Regions from separate parts of the Homo sapiens genome. Here regions 2 and 3 are each linked to region 1. Evidence: promoter capture Hi-C in human tissues and cell types (Jung and others, 2019). All regions are on one chromosome and are shown on one strand. The core of a region is centred on a gene start or on the middle of the fragment in contact, and the rest is flanking DNA. Distances in the headings are between cores, read along the strand shown. Region 1 holds the start of VWA2 (von Willebrand factor A domain containing 2). Region 2 has its middle 34 kb from the start of MIR4483. Region 3 overlaps ABLIM1 (actin binding LIM protein 1).

Region 1 (4,616 bases), core at 985-3,484:
CTCCTGGGAAGCAAGAAGCTTACATGCCCCTTAGAATGATTGTAATTCATAATAACTTTATTTTTTAAATCCTTGTAAATCTTCACAAAGGAAGGGATGTCATGGATGACAAAAGTAGCTACCCAGCTTTCTGCATAAAAAGCCTCCACCCCTGCTGGTCACCCACTCAGCACTCAGCACTCACCAGGGCCTGCACCACCTGCCTTCCCTCCTGCCCAAGTGCACACCCCGGACAGACTGATTATACATTGATGTGAAGAAGTCTGAAGCAACAGGTATCTTCACTGTATTTATGCTTTCAGTTCTTCATAATCACAGAATGAAAATGTGAAATACCTCCCCCCCCCCCGCCCCCAATTAAAGACATGCCAAATACTTCAGGAACAACCAGGATTGAAATTTGGCTTCTCCAAGGTAAGCCTGATAAGGTCAAAGTATGCTGGTACCTGTTAAACAGCATAAGGGGTACAGGGAGAGGGTTGTCAAAGGTAGAATTTCCACTTTCTTGAGGACCTGGGGTCTGCCCTTGTTGGACATCTCTGGAGCAGCACAGGCCACTCACCCCATTTGACTATACAGCACTTAAAAATGTGGCGAGTCCAAATTGAGATGTGCTTGTGAGTATAGAATACAACAGGATTGGCCAGGCGTGGTGGCTCACGCCTATGATCCCAGCATTTTGGGAGGCTGAGGCGGGTGGATTACCTGAGGTCAGGAGTTTGAGACCAGCCTGGCCAACATGGCAAAACCCTGTCTTTACTAAAAATACAAAAATTAGCCGGGCATGGTGGTGTGCACCTGTGATCCCAGCTACTCGGGAGGCTGAGGCAGGAGAACCATTTGAACCTGGGAGGCAGAGGTTGCAGTGAGCCAAGATCATGCCATTGCACTCCAGCCTGGGCAACAGAGTGAGACTCTGTCTCAAACAAAAAAAAAAAAAAAAAAAACAAAAAAACAGGACTTTGAAGACAGCATAAAACATCTTTATTGATTACATGTTGAGATAATGTTCCGGATGTTTAGGTTAATACTGAAATCCAGCTTGCTGTTTCTTTTCACTTTTTATTAAATGTGACCACTAGAACATTTAAAATTACACACGTGGCTTGGTCAGTATTTCTCTGGGGCAATGCTGATCTAGAGGCAGAGACCATCCCTCCCCAGCAGTTAGACCTCAAGACTAACTGCTGTCCCCTGTGGGGATGATGTGGTGGTACATTATGTCTGCTGCTCTGGTGTGGCCCTGTTTTTATTTTTGGGTGCTCAGTAAATGTTACTGGGAGAAATGAATTACAGGAAAAATGAGTCCTTTCCTAGCCTCCTTCAATGAGGTTTGCAACATTAAAGTCACCACGGGCCACTTTCACTGGAAGCTGTCAGTGTCGGAGGTTTGGAAATTAACTGAGAACTACAGACAGGAAAGGTGTAAAGCAAATTATTTTCCTATCAGATTGACATTTACAAGAATAATGGGAAGGAGCATGGAAAAGAGGAAGCAGGTCAACCTTCCTTGAGGACAATTAGATAATAGGCATCAAAAGTCTTAAGTTGTATAAAACCTGTATCCTAGAAATTTACCTTTTCGTAGTTTATTCTAAGGAATTAATTGGACAAAAGCACAAAGACATCTAATTGTATTATTAAAATGGAAAGTTTAATATTCAACAATAGCAGATAGGTTAAGTACATTAGGACATTATGAAGTGGCTTAAAACGGACATTCAAAAAAAGGAAATGGAAAACCTGAGTAATGTACAGCTTGTATGGAATGAACTAAAAATATATAAATTTTTGCATAGGTAGAATGACATTGGAAGAACATACACCACAATGTTAACTGATTATCTCTGGGTGTTGGAAAATGATTGATTTATCAACTTTTTTACTGTTATTTCTTTTCTTTTTTTTTTTTTTGCAATGAACAGGCATGCTCTGGCAGTTTTTAAATGAAGTATGGAAATTATGGATTGTGCAGTCATAGTCAACGTTCATTGAGAGCTTACTTTATATAAAGCATCATGCTCAGCATTGTGCTTTGTGGCATTTGATTTTTTAAAAATCAAACGCCCTCCAATCTTAAGCAAGGATGATGGCCAAAAGGTCGGCTTATTACCCAACTGCAACAATAGGAGGGACAGGTAATTAAAAGGCAATTGCCATGACAAATAGAAAAGATGCCAAAGTCAACATTTTTTCAAGGAGCTATAAAGCCCGTGGAGGAGTCAGCTGACGGCACAGTGTTCGCGGCTGCACCGCTCGGAGGCTGGGTGACCCGCGTAGAAGTGAAGTACTTTTTTATTTGCAGACCTGGGCCGATGCCGCTTTAAAAAACGCGAGGGGCTCTATGCACCTCCCTGGCGGTAGTTCCTCCGACCTCAGCCGGGTCGGGTCGTGCCGCCCTCTCCCAGGAGAGACAAACAGGTGTCCCACGTGGCAGCCGCGCCCCGGGCGCCCCTCCTGTGATCCCGTAGCGCCCCCTGGCCCGAGCCGCGCCCGGGTCTGTGAGTAGAGCCGCCCGGGCACCGAGCGCTGGTCGCCGCTCTCCTTCCGGTGAGTCCCAGCCCCGAGTTGGCTCTGGCGCCCGGGTACCCGCCAGTGCCGGCTGCCGATGACCGATTCACGCTCCCGGTACTGGGGCCCCCTCTGCCCAGCCACCCCTACCCAGAGCACCCGGGCTGCGCGGCCCCGCCGAGGGTGCGGGCTTTGTTCGCATTGTCTGCGCGCACCTGAGCGCGGCCTTCCTGGCACGGCGGCGTCGGGGGAAGAGCGCACCTGGCGCGCGCCTCCCTCGTGGCCACTCGCGGTCCGTCCCGGGCGAGCTGGCGGGGTTTTGGGAGGGGTGCGGTCAGCAGGTAAGTGGGTAGGGGCTCCGGGTACAGGGGTGGAGGAGGGCATGTATTAAACCCAAGCTGCCCTCCTGGCACAGTAGCGGGGCCCCCTTCCCTGGCGGCCGCGGAAAGGGACTCGCCCTTTGAATAAAGGCTTTGGTGACATGCTCGCTTCCACCCCACACCCCACTACAGGACATACACAGGTGTTAAGGGGACTTGGGGCAGTTTTCCCAGGCAGAACGAGTGCCCCCAGCGAAGTGTCTGCAAGCAGAACCTGAGAGGGGCCGGCTGCCCCGAGAGTCCTCGCGCTTGGGCAGTGGGAAGTCCAGGGGTTTGTCGTTCTGGTGACTTCCCCCACCTGGCTCAGCCCTGCTTCCTGCATGTCTCCTTCCCTTCCAATAAGGCTAACAAAACTTTCCCTAGCTAAGCCGACCTTTCCCTCCCGCCTTGGGCCCTTGGCCACCTGCTGGGACGGTGAATGGGAGAGTCTCAGAATTGAACCTTGAAAACTTGCTGGGGGCACCAGACAGAAGAGAAGGGAGGAGGGCACCTTGCTGCTTGTGATTGTGGAATCAAGGGCTCCAGCTGAAGCTGAAAGGGGACTTAGCAATGGGGACCTCATGCCATGTGTTTGATGTCTTGGAGATTGGAATAATTAGAACGTGTACATTTTTCAAATTACAAGCTGCTTTAAGTAAAACCCCAGAACCTCTAAGTGTTTTATAAATTCAGTCCCAAAAATTCAAGGTCTCTTTTGCTGTTAAGGTGACACTATATTAAGAAATGTCGATTTATTGAAGAGTCAGAGAAGTGAAGAGGTCAGAAAGGTACCACTAGAGTTGGCAAAAGCCACAGGCATGAATTTGTAAATGCTGCTGGCTTTCAGCAGGCTGAAGCCATCCTCTCTTGTGACTGATGGGGGTTCAGAGCTCCTCAGGCCTTACTCTTCTTTTGTAAAATCCAGCCCAGAGCCATCTCCTAGTAGTGTAAGAATTTCTCAGACTAGGTCCCCAGGCAAATCCCAGGTTGGAGAAGAGGATTGCTTTCCTCATCATCTCTGGCTGAAAACCATCAGTGTATTTTCATTAAATCTGGTTTTTGGTCTACCGTACAGAGATTACAGCCAGTATTTCCCCTCTCTTCAATAGGCACAAGCCCCTGGGATATCCGAATCATAGTCAGAAGCCCATGTTTTTACAGATGAGGAAACTGAGACCCAGTTTTAGAGTGTTAGGTTCAAAGCAAAATTGAGCAGAAGGTACAGGTTTCCCATATACCTCCTGTCCCCGCCTATGCACAGACTCCCCCATTGTCAGCATCCCCCACTGCAGTGGTACATTTGTTCCAACTGATGAACCGACACTGGCACATCATTATGACCCAAAGTTCACAGTTTGCCCTGGGGTTTGCTCCTGTTGTACATTCTATGGCTTTGGACAAATGTAAAATGACATAAATCTGCCATTATAGTATCAAACAGCATAGTTTCACTACCGTAAAAATCTTCTGTGCATCCCACCCTCCCTACAACACATGGTAATCACTGATCTTTCTACTGTCTCAATAGTTTTACCTTTTCCAGAATGTCTTATGATTGGAATCATGTAGTACGTAGCTTTCTCAGATTGGTGTCTTTCGCTCGGTAATATACACTGACATTTCCCCTCCTGGCTTTTTAATGAGCATCATAAAAACAGAATAGTTATTTGGCAGTGACGGCATCATAAGCTTGTGGTGAAAATGCCTTTTTTGTTAATAACTCCCCTGATGTGTGTGCATCTTACA
Region 2 (4,616 bases), core at 610-3,109, 430 kb before region 1:
GAGGGAAACTCCATCTCAAAAAAAAAAAAAGAGAGAGAGAGAGAGATTGTGAACACAGACAAAACTATTTACAAACAAGTTCCTTCATTCTTTTGTCGGTGAAGCAAATCTGCTGCCTGTTAGTCTTGACGCTGTCATCTGAGCGGACGGTTAGCAACATCTCTCTCACTGAACCAGGAAAGGGTGACAAAGTATCTCCATGGACCCCTTGAGGGATAAATGGGTGGGTTGAGGGAAGGAGTGCTCATTGTCTTTTGAACATTTAGCTGTTGGAAAGGGAAGAAAGGAGTTGCAAAAAATGGGTGAACAATGAACAGTGGGGTTTGAATCCCGGCAGTGTCTGTACTCACCTCCTTGTAGTCAGAGGTGCTGTCCTGGGAGAGAAAAGAGAACTTTTAACAACTACTCTTTTTTTTTTTTTTTTTTCGAGAAGTGGAATAGCTCTGTCCTCTGTGCCCTCACTAGGAGTCAGACCCCTGGATGGACTTGCCAGATAGGGAATTAACCCATTTTCCATCTGGGAACCTGGCTCTCCTACGACTAAAGAAGGTATCTGGAGTACATGGCAGGGAATGGCATGAAAGAGCGCTCTCCTGTGAGTAGGAGATGAGCAGTTCTTACTCAGGGTCACTCAGCTTCTATAGGTTTCAACTTCCGATTCTCCCTAAAGCCACATGAAACCTTCAAATGTATCCTTTCTGTTCATGTCTCTTGGGCCATCAATTTATTCTACGTGCAGGGGAGGAGCAGATACTGCGGTGTGTTTATTGTCCAACAGGAATCACCAAAGACATTCCATAGGCTGCTAAAAGGCTGTTCATGTGTTACACCACTAACTTGAATCTGGAAACTGCAGTTCTGAACTGTAAGCCATTGTTTGGCAACTGATGTAAGATACATAGGTTTCACCAAGTATTTGTATCAACACATTGCTAGTCAGAATGAATAATCTGTATTGATGGATGTGCTCAGTGCCTGTGTGCTCACCCTGGGAGTGCTGAAGAGTTAGTGTGCCGTGCTCTCTAAACTCTTTCACTCACTTACTACTGGGCTGCTCTGTTGCTGTCAGCTCACTGCCTCATTTTATGGTTAATACAACCATTTTACACTTTACACCACCATGAGGGATTGATTCTTCCACTGTTGTACCTCCAGGCCCCAAACCCAAGCTGGGGGAAGTTCTGCTGTTTTATTTTTTATCTTTTTATTTTTGAGACAGAGTCTTACTCTGTTGCCCAGGCTGGAGTGCAAAGGCATGATTTCAGCTCACTGCAACCTCCGCCTCCCGGTTCAAGTGATCCTCCTGCCTCAGCCTCCTGAGTAGCTGGGACTACAGGTGTGCACCACCACGCCCAGCTAATTTGTGTATTTTTAGTAGAGACAGGGTTTCACCATGTTGGTCAGGCTGGTCTTGAACTCATAGCCACTACACCCAGCCAGTTCTGCTGTTTATATATTATATCAAAAAGCATTAGATAAATACATATTAATAAGTAAAATAAACATATTAGCTCAAAACATTTTCTCACCTGACATATCTTAATATTATAGCATACATCCATTGTGATAATTAGCTTGAAAAATATGATCATGTCCAAGCCCTGGCAAACCATGCAATACTTTGAAAAAAAAAAATAGCAATGAAGCTAACAGACTCATAGAATCTTCCAGGCAGGACCTAAGATCAATTACTTCTCATTCTAGTGGAGGAAACTGAGATGCAGGATAGTGGACTAAGTTGCCCAGTGTCACAAAGTTAGTGGCAGAACCAGGCCTACCTAAATTATAGTCTCTGAACACTAAGTCAACAGCTTTCATTACTATACTGGCTGATTAAGCAATATCTCTTTTCAAAGAATACTAAATAATTAGAAGTTGTGTGATCATATCTATGGCCCGGGGACAGGGCCAAGATGGCTGACTAGAAGCAGCAGCATTTGCAGGCTCCCATTGGGAAAAAACATAATAAGCGTGTGAATCCTTCACTGACAACCAAGGTATCCAGGTTCTCTCATCAAAATTGACTAGAAGCTGGTGTGACCCACAGAGGGAAGGAAGAGCAGTGTGGTGTGGCAGCCCACCTGAGAGCCACACAGGGAAGGGGAACCCCCTCCCCCCAGCCAAGGGAGGCAGTGAGTGAGCGTGCTGCCCAGCAGGGAAAACTGTGCTTTTCTCACGGAACTGTGCAACCCACAGATCAGAAGAGCCCACTTGTGAACCCACACCACCGGATATTCAGGACTTTAACTCGGCTCTGGATCAAGTGGACCTAGTAGACATCTACAGAACTCTCTACCCCCAATCAACAGAATATACATTCTTCTAAGTGCCACATAGCACTTATTCTAAAACCAACCACATAATTGCAAGTAAAACACTCCTCAGCAAATGCAAAAGAACTGAAATCATAACAAACAGTCTCTCAGACCACAGTACAATCAAATTAGAACTCAAGATTAAGAAACTCACTCAAAACCACACAATTTCATGGAAATTGAACAACCTGCTCCTGAATGAATCCTGGGTAAATAATGAAATTAAGGCAGAAATCAAGAAGTTATTTGAAACCAATGAGAACAAAGAGACAACGTACAAGAATCTATGGGACACAGTTAAAGCAGTGTTAAGAGGGAAATTTATAGCACTAAATACCCACATCAGAAAGCTAGAAATATCTTAAATGGACACCCAACATCACAATTAAAAGACCTAGAAAGGCAAGAGCAAACTAATCCAAAAGCTAGCAGAAGACAAGAAATAACTAAGATCAGAGAAGAATTGAAGGAGATAGAGACATGAAAATCCCTCCAAAAAATCAAATGAATCTAGGAGCTGTCTTTTGAAAAAATTAACAAAATAGATAGACCACCAGTAGACTAATAAAGAAGAGAGAGAAGAATCAGATAGACACAATAAAAAGTGATAAAGGGGATATCACTACTGACCCCACAGAAATACAAACTACCACCAGAGAATACTATAATGCAAATAAACTAGAAAATCTAGAAGAAATGGATAAATTCCTGTATATATACACCCTAACAAGACTAAACCAGGAAGAAGTCAAATCTCTGAATAGAGCAATAAGAAGCTCTGAAATTGAGGCAGTAATTAATAGCCTATCAACCAAAAAAGTCCAGGGCCAGACAGATTCACAGCTGAATTCTACCAGAAATACAAAGTGGAGCTGGTACCATTCCCTCTGAAACTATTTCAAACAATGAGAAAGGAGAGCCTCCTCCCTAACTCATTTTATGAAGCCAGCATCATCCTGATACCAAAACCGGGAAGAGACACAGCAAAGAAAGAAAACTTCAGGCCAATATCCCTGATGAACATCAAAGCGAAAATCCTCAATAAAATACTGGCAAACTGAATCCGGCAGCACATCAAAAAACTTATCCACCACAATCAAGTTGGCTTCATCCCTTGGATGCAAGTCTGGTTCAACATACACAAATCAATAAATGTAATCCATCACATGAACAGAACCAAAGACAAAAACTATATGATTATCTCAATAGATGCAGAAAAAGCCTTTGAAAAAATTCAACATCCCTTCATGTTAAAAACTCCCAATGAACTAGGTATTGATGGAACATATCTCAAAATCATAAGTTGTTTATGACAAACCCACAACAAATATCATATTGAATGGGCAAAAGATGGAAGCATTCCCTTTGAAAAATGGTAAAGACAAGGATGACCTCTCTCACCACTCCTATTCAACATAGTATTGGAAGTTCTGGCCAAGGCAATCAGGCAAGAGAAAGAAATAAAGGTAATTGAATAGGAAGAGAGGAAGTCAAGTTGTCTCTGTTTGCAGACGACATGATTTTATATTTAGAAAACTCCATCGTCTCAGCGCCAAAACTTCTTGGAACTTATAAGCAACTTCAGCAAAGTCTCAGGATACAAAATCAATGTGCAAAAATCACAAGCATTCCTATACACCAATAATAGACAAACAGAAAGTCAAATCATGAATGAACTCCCATTCACAAATCTACAAAGAGAATAAAATACCTAGGAATACAGCTAACAAGGGATTTGAAGGACCTCTTCAAGGAGAACTACAAACTACTGCTCAAGGAAATAAGAGAGGACACAAATGGAAAAACATTCCATCCTTATGGAATAGGAAAAATCAATATTGTGAAAATGGCCGTGCTGTCCGAAAGTAATTTATAGATTCAATGCTGTTCCCATCAAACTACTATTGACATTCTTCACAGAATTAGTAAAAACTACTTTACATTTCATTTGGAATCAAAGAAGAGCACATATAGCCAAGACAATCCTAAGCAAAAAGAATAAAGCTGGAAGCATCACGCTACCTGACTTCAAACTATACTACAAGGCTACAGTAACCAAAATAGCAAGGTACTGATAACAAAATAGACATATAGACCAATGGAGCAGAACAGAGACCTCAGAAATAACACCACACATCTACAACCATCTGATCTTCGACAAACCTGACAAAAACAAGCAATGGGGAAAGGATCTTATATTCAGTAAATGGTGCTGGGAAAACAAGCTAGCCATATGCAGAAAACTGACACTGGACCCCTTCCTTATACCTCATACAAAGACTAACTCAAGATGGATTAAAG
Region 3 (4,616 bases), core at 1,441-3,940, 280 kb after region 1:
CAGGGCTTACAAAAGCACATTTTTCTTCCTCTGTTTCCTTTCAGTTAGACTATCAGATATGCAAACACTCTTCTCATTAGCCTCTTATTTTGCTGAATTCAGTAAGAAATTTCCTAGAAGACTTGCAGTTCTGGCTGGTGCTTTTCTGGGACCTGCGATTAACTAATAGTAGATGCCATTCCTTGGGACTCCGTTTTTTTTTGTTGTTGCTTTTTATCCTCAAAGAGCAGGGCTGTTGATTACGACAAGAACAAGGCTTTTGCCCCTTTCCTCACCTCCAGGAGGAAAAACCTGAGAGGGAAGAGCAAGCACTCCGATTTTTAGATGGGAGGGCATGGGCTGAGTTGAACTGTGGTCCCCCAAAGATATGTCCAACCTGCTTTGCAGATGTAATTAAGGTAAGGGTGTTGAGAGAAGGCCATCCTGGATTCAGGTGGGCCCTGAATCCAATGACAAGTCTTTACAAAATACAGGACAGGACGGGACCAGACAAGACAAGGAAACTGACCAAGAGGGCAAGCTGGACCCACATGAAGATGAAGGCAGAGACTGGAGCGATGCAGCTCCAAGCCACGCAGCACCAAGGATGCTGCAGCACTGGAAGCCAGGGGACAGGATGAAGCAGACCCTCCAGCAGAGCCCCCAGAAGAACCCCCACTCCACACCGACAACACTTTGATTTCAAACTTCAGGCCTCCAGAAATGTGACAGAATACATTTCTGTCATGTTTGAGCTGCCAAGTTTGTGGTGATCTATGATATCCTTAGGAACGAATTCAAGGCATCAACGACAGCGCATACTTTAAAGGGCGGGGAGGGGGGCCACAGTACAATGTGGGTCTGTACTTTTTTGCGATAAACTGTGTTCACAGCAGGACAAAAAACTTGGGATTTTTAGGATTTCACAGAAATTGCCTCATAATCAACCACAATGTTGAAGCTAAAGTTTGTCTGAAACCTTCCTCATCATGCAAATCTTTTATTAGCTCGTCACCTGTATGTGGTGCTGTGCTGGCAGAAAGTTAGGCTGAAACAAAACCCCCTTTGGAAACATAGTAACGCTGCACGGGCTGACATGGATCCCCGTGGATGTGCCCACCAGACACATGGGACCATGTGAGACGAACAAGACATCATCTGTGTCTGCTGGTAGTTATTTACACACATACTTTTTTTTTTTGGTATTTGTCATGTTTTCTTAGTGTATGGTAAAGGATTTTACCACTATGTGGTCATTAAAAAGAATGTCATCATCCTATAAGCATCAACACTGAGTTACTGCCAAGTGAAGGAAATTGTAGAACAACATGCATAAAACGGTCCTATTTGTATAAAAGAATACATGCCCTCCCACAGGTATCTATGTGCAAGAAACAGGAGCAAAGCAAGATACAGAACTCTACATCCTATATGAAAAAATTTACATGATCCAACCCCGTATTTGTAAGTATCTGCATGCCAGTGACACTATAGACCCAACTCTCAACAATAGCTACCTCTGGGAGTGGGTTTTTTTAAAGTAATGTGAGCTTATTGTAAATAAATAACTGAATAAGTACACTTCTTTGTACTTCTCTGAACCACATGCAATGGGCCAGATAGTACATATTTTCAGCTTTGTGGACTACGCTGTCTCTGTCTCAGCTACTCAAGGCTGGTATGGGCTAAAGCAGACCTAGAGACTATGTAAATGAACAGACGTGGTCCTGTGCCAATAAAGCTTAGGGAGTAAGTGGAGAATGTTTACTTTTTACCTGATACCAAGATTGGCAGCCCATAGGTGAAACCTGGCCCACTACCTGTTTTTTGTAAATAAAGCTTTATTGGAACAGAACCATGTCTGTTCATTTACATAGTCTCTAGGTCTGCTTTAGCCCATACGTAGCTGAGACAGAGACAGCATAGTCCACAAGGCTGAAAATATGTACTATCTGGCCCATTACATGTGATTCAGAGAAGTACAAACAAGTGTACTTACTCAGTTATTCATTTATTTATTTACGATGAGCTCACACTACTTAAAAAAAAAAACTTTTAGAAGTTGTCTGCTCAGACAGTGGCAGGGGATGCCTGGACAATCATCAACAATCTTCCTAGAAGCAGGTGGGAACTTGGGAGTTTTTAGGATGAGACAAGAAAAGCTCCATAGGCATGGGAAAGGGAAGTTGTTTAAAAACAAAGTGAAATAAAGGTTTGAGCAAAAATCTTTTGAATATCTACTCAATCCCCACACACCCTGCCTCCCTGTAATGGCTTTAATATTCCAAAAGACTTTGAAAGATAGCTTTGGTTTGTACAGCAAGCAGAGAAGTAGTTCAAGAGGCAGCCTGGGGGAGGTGCAGAGGGGATAGAGAAGCACTGAGCTGCTCTGAGGTCTACTTTTGCCTTACTAACCAATGGGCTGTGTGTTCCTAGGAAAATCACTCAGGTTTTCTGGGTCTCAGTGTCCTCAACTCTCAGAGGTTTAGACTAGATTAAATCTGTGGAACTTTCCTGCTAATGATATTTCTGGGAGTCCTAAGCAGGTATCACCTTGAACACAGAAAAGGAGGTAGAGAAGAGATCTTCCTGGTTGGTGCAAGGCCAGGTCCGGGAACCAGCCGGCCAGGTTGCAGCCTTTTTTCCCCGCCCAGCACATGTTGGGTGTGAGCGAGTGCAGATTAGGCAAGGCCCCAATTATCCCTCGGCTGGGAGAGGCAAGTGTGAACAATGAATCAGTCAGAAACTCCTTTCCAATATCCTCATCACACAGACAGTTAAATTGCAAACCACAAGACATATTTATTAATGAGTACATCCAAGGCCATCAGGCCATTTAAGAAGTTGTATTAAAAGGGCAAAAATCCCTCCAATCTTGCTCAGGGATGGTTAAAGGGTTCAGGGGTCCCTGCTCTTTGTGATGGATAGAGGAGCCAAATGACACATCAGGGTTCGCCCACAGATCCCTCATACATGCCATGGTTGAGCACTTCTCACTGGTCCTACCCCCAGTGCTGAGGGCCTTTTGAGTTTTTGACATCCATAAATAACCTGTGGGTACTACCTCCCTGCTTAGCTCACCACCAACCCAGGAAAAAAGGAACCAGCTGGGTTACCCCCAAACCTGGGTGAAACTGGATTATGTGCCAAGGAAAGCTTTGACGGACCAGTCTGGCAAGGCTGCAGCCTCTGCCCTGTTGGAGCTGTCATCTGGAGTTGTCCTGTGCTGGAAAATTCAAGCTGTAAGACAACAAGGGACTCCATCCCTAGAGGCCAGCACAGGCTTCAGGCTCATGCCTGAAGACTCCCACTGCAGAGGGTACACCCTCAGCTGCTGAAGCCTCTGGGCAGGGCCATAGTAAACAGTCTCCACCTCAACTCTCTATAGACAGAAGTCTTAATCATTTTAGAATTGGCTCCATGGAGTCACAGCTCCAAGCCAGCTTACAGCATTACATTTATATGTCGACAAGGGCTTCTGATCTTGGCCTTCTGTTCTGCAGTGGAACATCCTGGGGCCAATCAACCTCACAAACACCGGTGTCAAGGCAGGTGATGAACAGCACTTGGTTATATTAAAAATGTAGAAGAACTCTGTCAGGTTTAAAATTCTTAGGCATTTTCCTAGTCTTTTCTGCTTGAAATTGCTACCTACAGTTGTCATGGTGGTTTCCTTGGTGTAAGTTTCATATTCTAGGGGAAATCAGTGCCATCGTGGGAGCTAAAAAAAGGAGAACTCATTCCCAGGGCTGCCAATTGTAACCCTGGATTAAAGTGCCATGTGACTCAGCAGCTGCTTAACTTTTGACTAATAGATTTGTTTACATAAGAAGAATGAGAGGGTTTAAGCAATCAATGACGTCCTATCGGTTAAAAAAAGAAAAAAAAGAAAGAAAGAAAAATGACGTAGGCTGGGTGTGGTGCTTCATGCCTGTAATCCCAGCACTTCAGGAGGCCAAGGCAGGAGGACCACTTGAGGCCAGGAGTTAAGAGAGCAGCCTGGGCAACATAGTGAGACCCTGTCTCTAAAAAATAATAATAAAAAAAAATTAGCTGGGCATGATGGCATGCACCTGTAGTCCCGGGACTCAGGAGACTGAGGCAGGGAATCTCTGGAGCCCAGGAGTTTGAGGCTGCAGTAAGTTATGACTGTGCCACTGTGCTCCAGTCTGGACAACAGAGTGAGACCCTGTTTCTAAAAAAACAATAAAAATAAGTGACTTAAGATACAGCAGCTAGTTATCCTTAGAGATGTCACTGGATTATGAACTGATAGGCTCATGTTTATGTTTATAAATAGTATAAATAATATGTATAAGCTCAAATAATAGGGATGAGAAGGGAGGAGGTGAGGTCTTAGGTTTCATTCATTTGGCAAAAGCCTGTGATGAACCTGTGGGTCAGGCACTGGACACCTGATGAGGAGGAAAGAAAGGCTGTATAATCTGCGCTACCAAGAAGAAATCTGTATTCAATTCCTGGCCCTGCAGTAATCATCTGTACGCCTTTCGGCAACTGCTCTGGGCCTCAGTTTACTTACTTGCAAAACAAAGATGAGAGTCATACTCAAGCCATAGAGTTGATGAAAGGACTTTGATGAAGTATGCTTATAAAGTGCTAAGGCAATAAGAACAAAC

What was found. The method cuts DNA at HindIII sites, captures the fragments that hold promoters and counts their contacts. A contact is called where the count stands out against the background at its distance.
Region 2: a contact is called between a fragment that was not itself captured here and the fragment with the promoter of VWA2 in region 1, in 1 of the 25 tissues and cell types used here (thymus).
Region 3: a fragment that was not itself captured here is called in contact with the fragment with the promoter of VWA2 in region 1 in 1 of the 25 tissues and cell types used here (bladder).

The regions. Positions count from the first base shown.
Region 1 is chr10:114,237,020-114,241,635 of GRCh38, forward strand. It overlaps VWA2 (von Willebrand factor A domain containing 2), which reads left to right and starts at 2,235. Exons shown (of 14, transcript NM_001272046.2): 1 at 2,235-2,550. RefSeq lists an enhancer at 2,146-2,854. The HindIII fragment of the contact is 6,749 bases long and covers 1-4,616 here.
Region 2 is chr10:113,809,481-113,814,096 of GRCh38, forward strand. No RefSeq gene overlaps it. Among named protein-coding and RNA genes, the nearest start is that of MIR4483, 34 kb to the left of the region's middle. The HindIII fragment of the contact is 8,663 bases long and covers 1-4,616 here.
Region 3 is chr10:114,516,801-114,521,416 of GRCh38, forward strand. The region is part of intron 6 of ABLIM1 (actin binding LIM protein 1); the gene reads right to left. Among named protein-coding and RNA genes, the nearest start is that of AFAP1L2, 110 kb to the left of the region's middle. RefSeq lists an enhancer at 2,108-2,627. The HindIII fragment of the contact is 5,622 bases long and covers 1-4,616 here.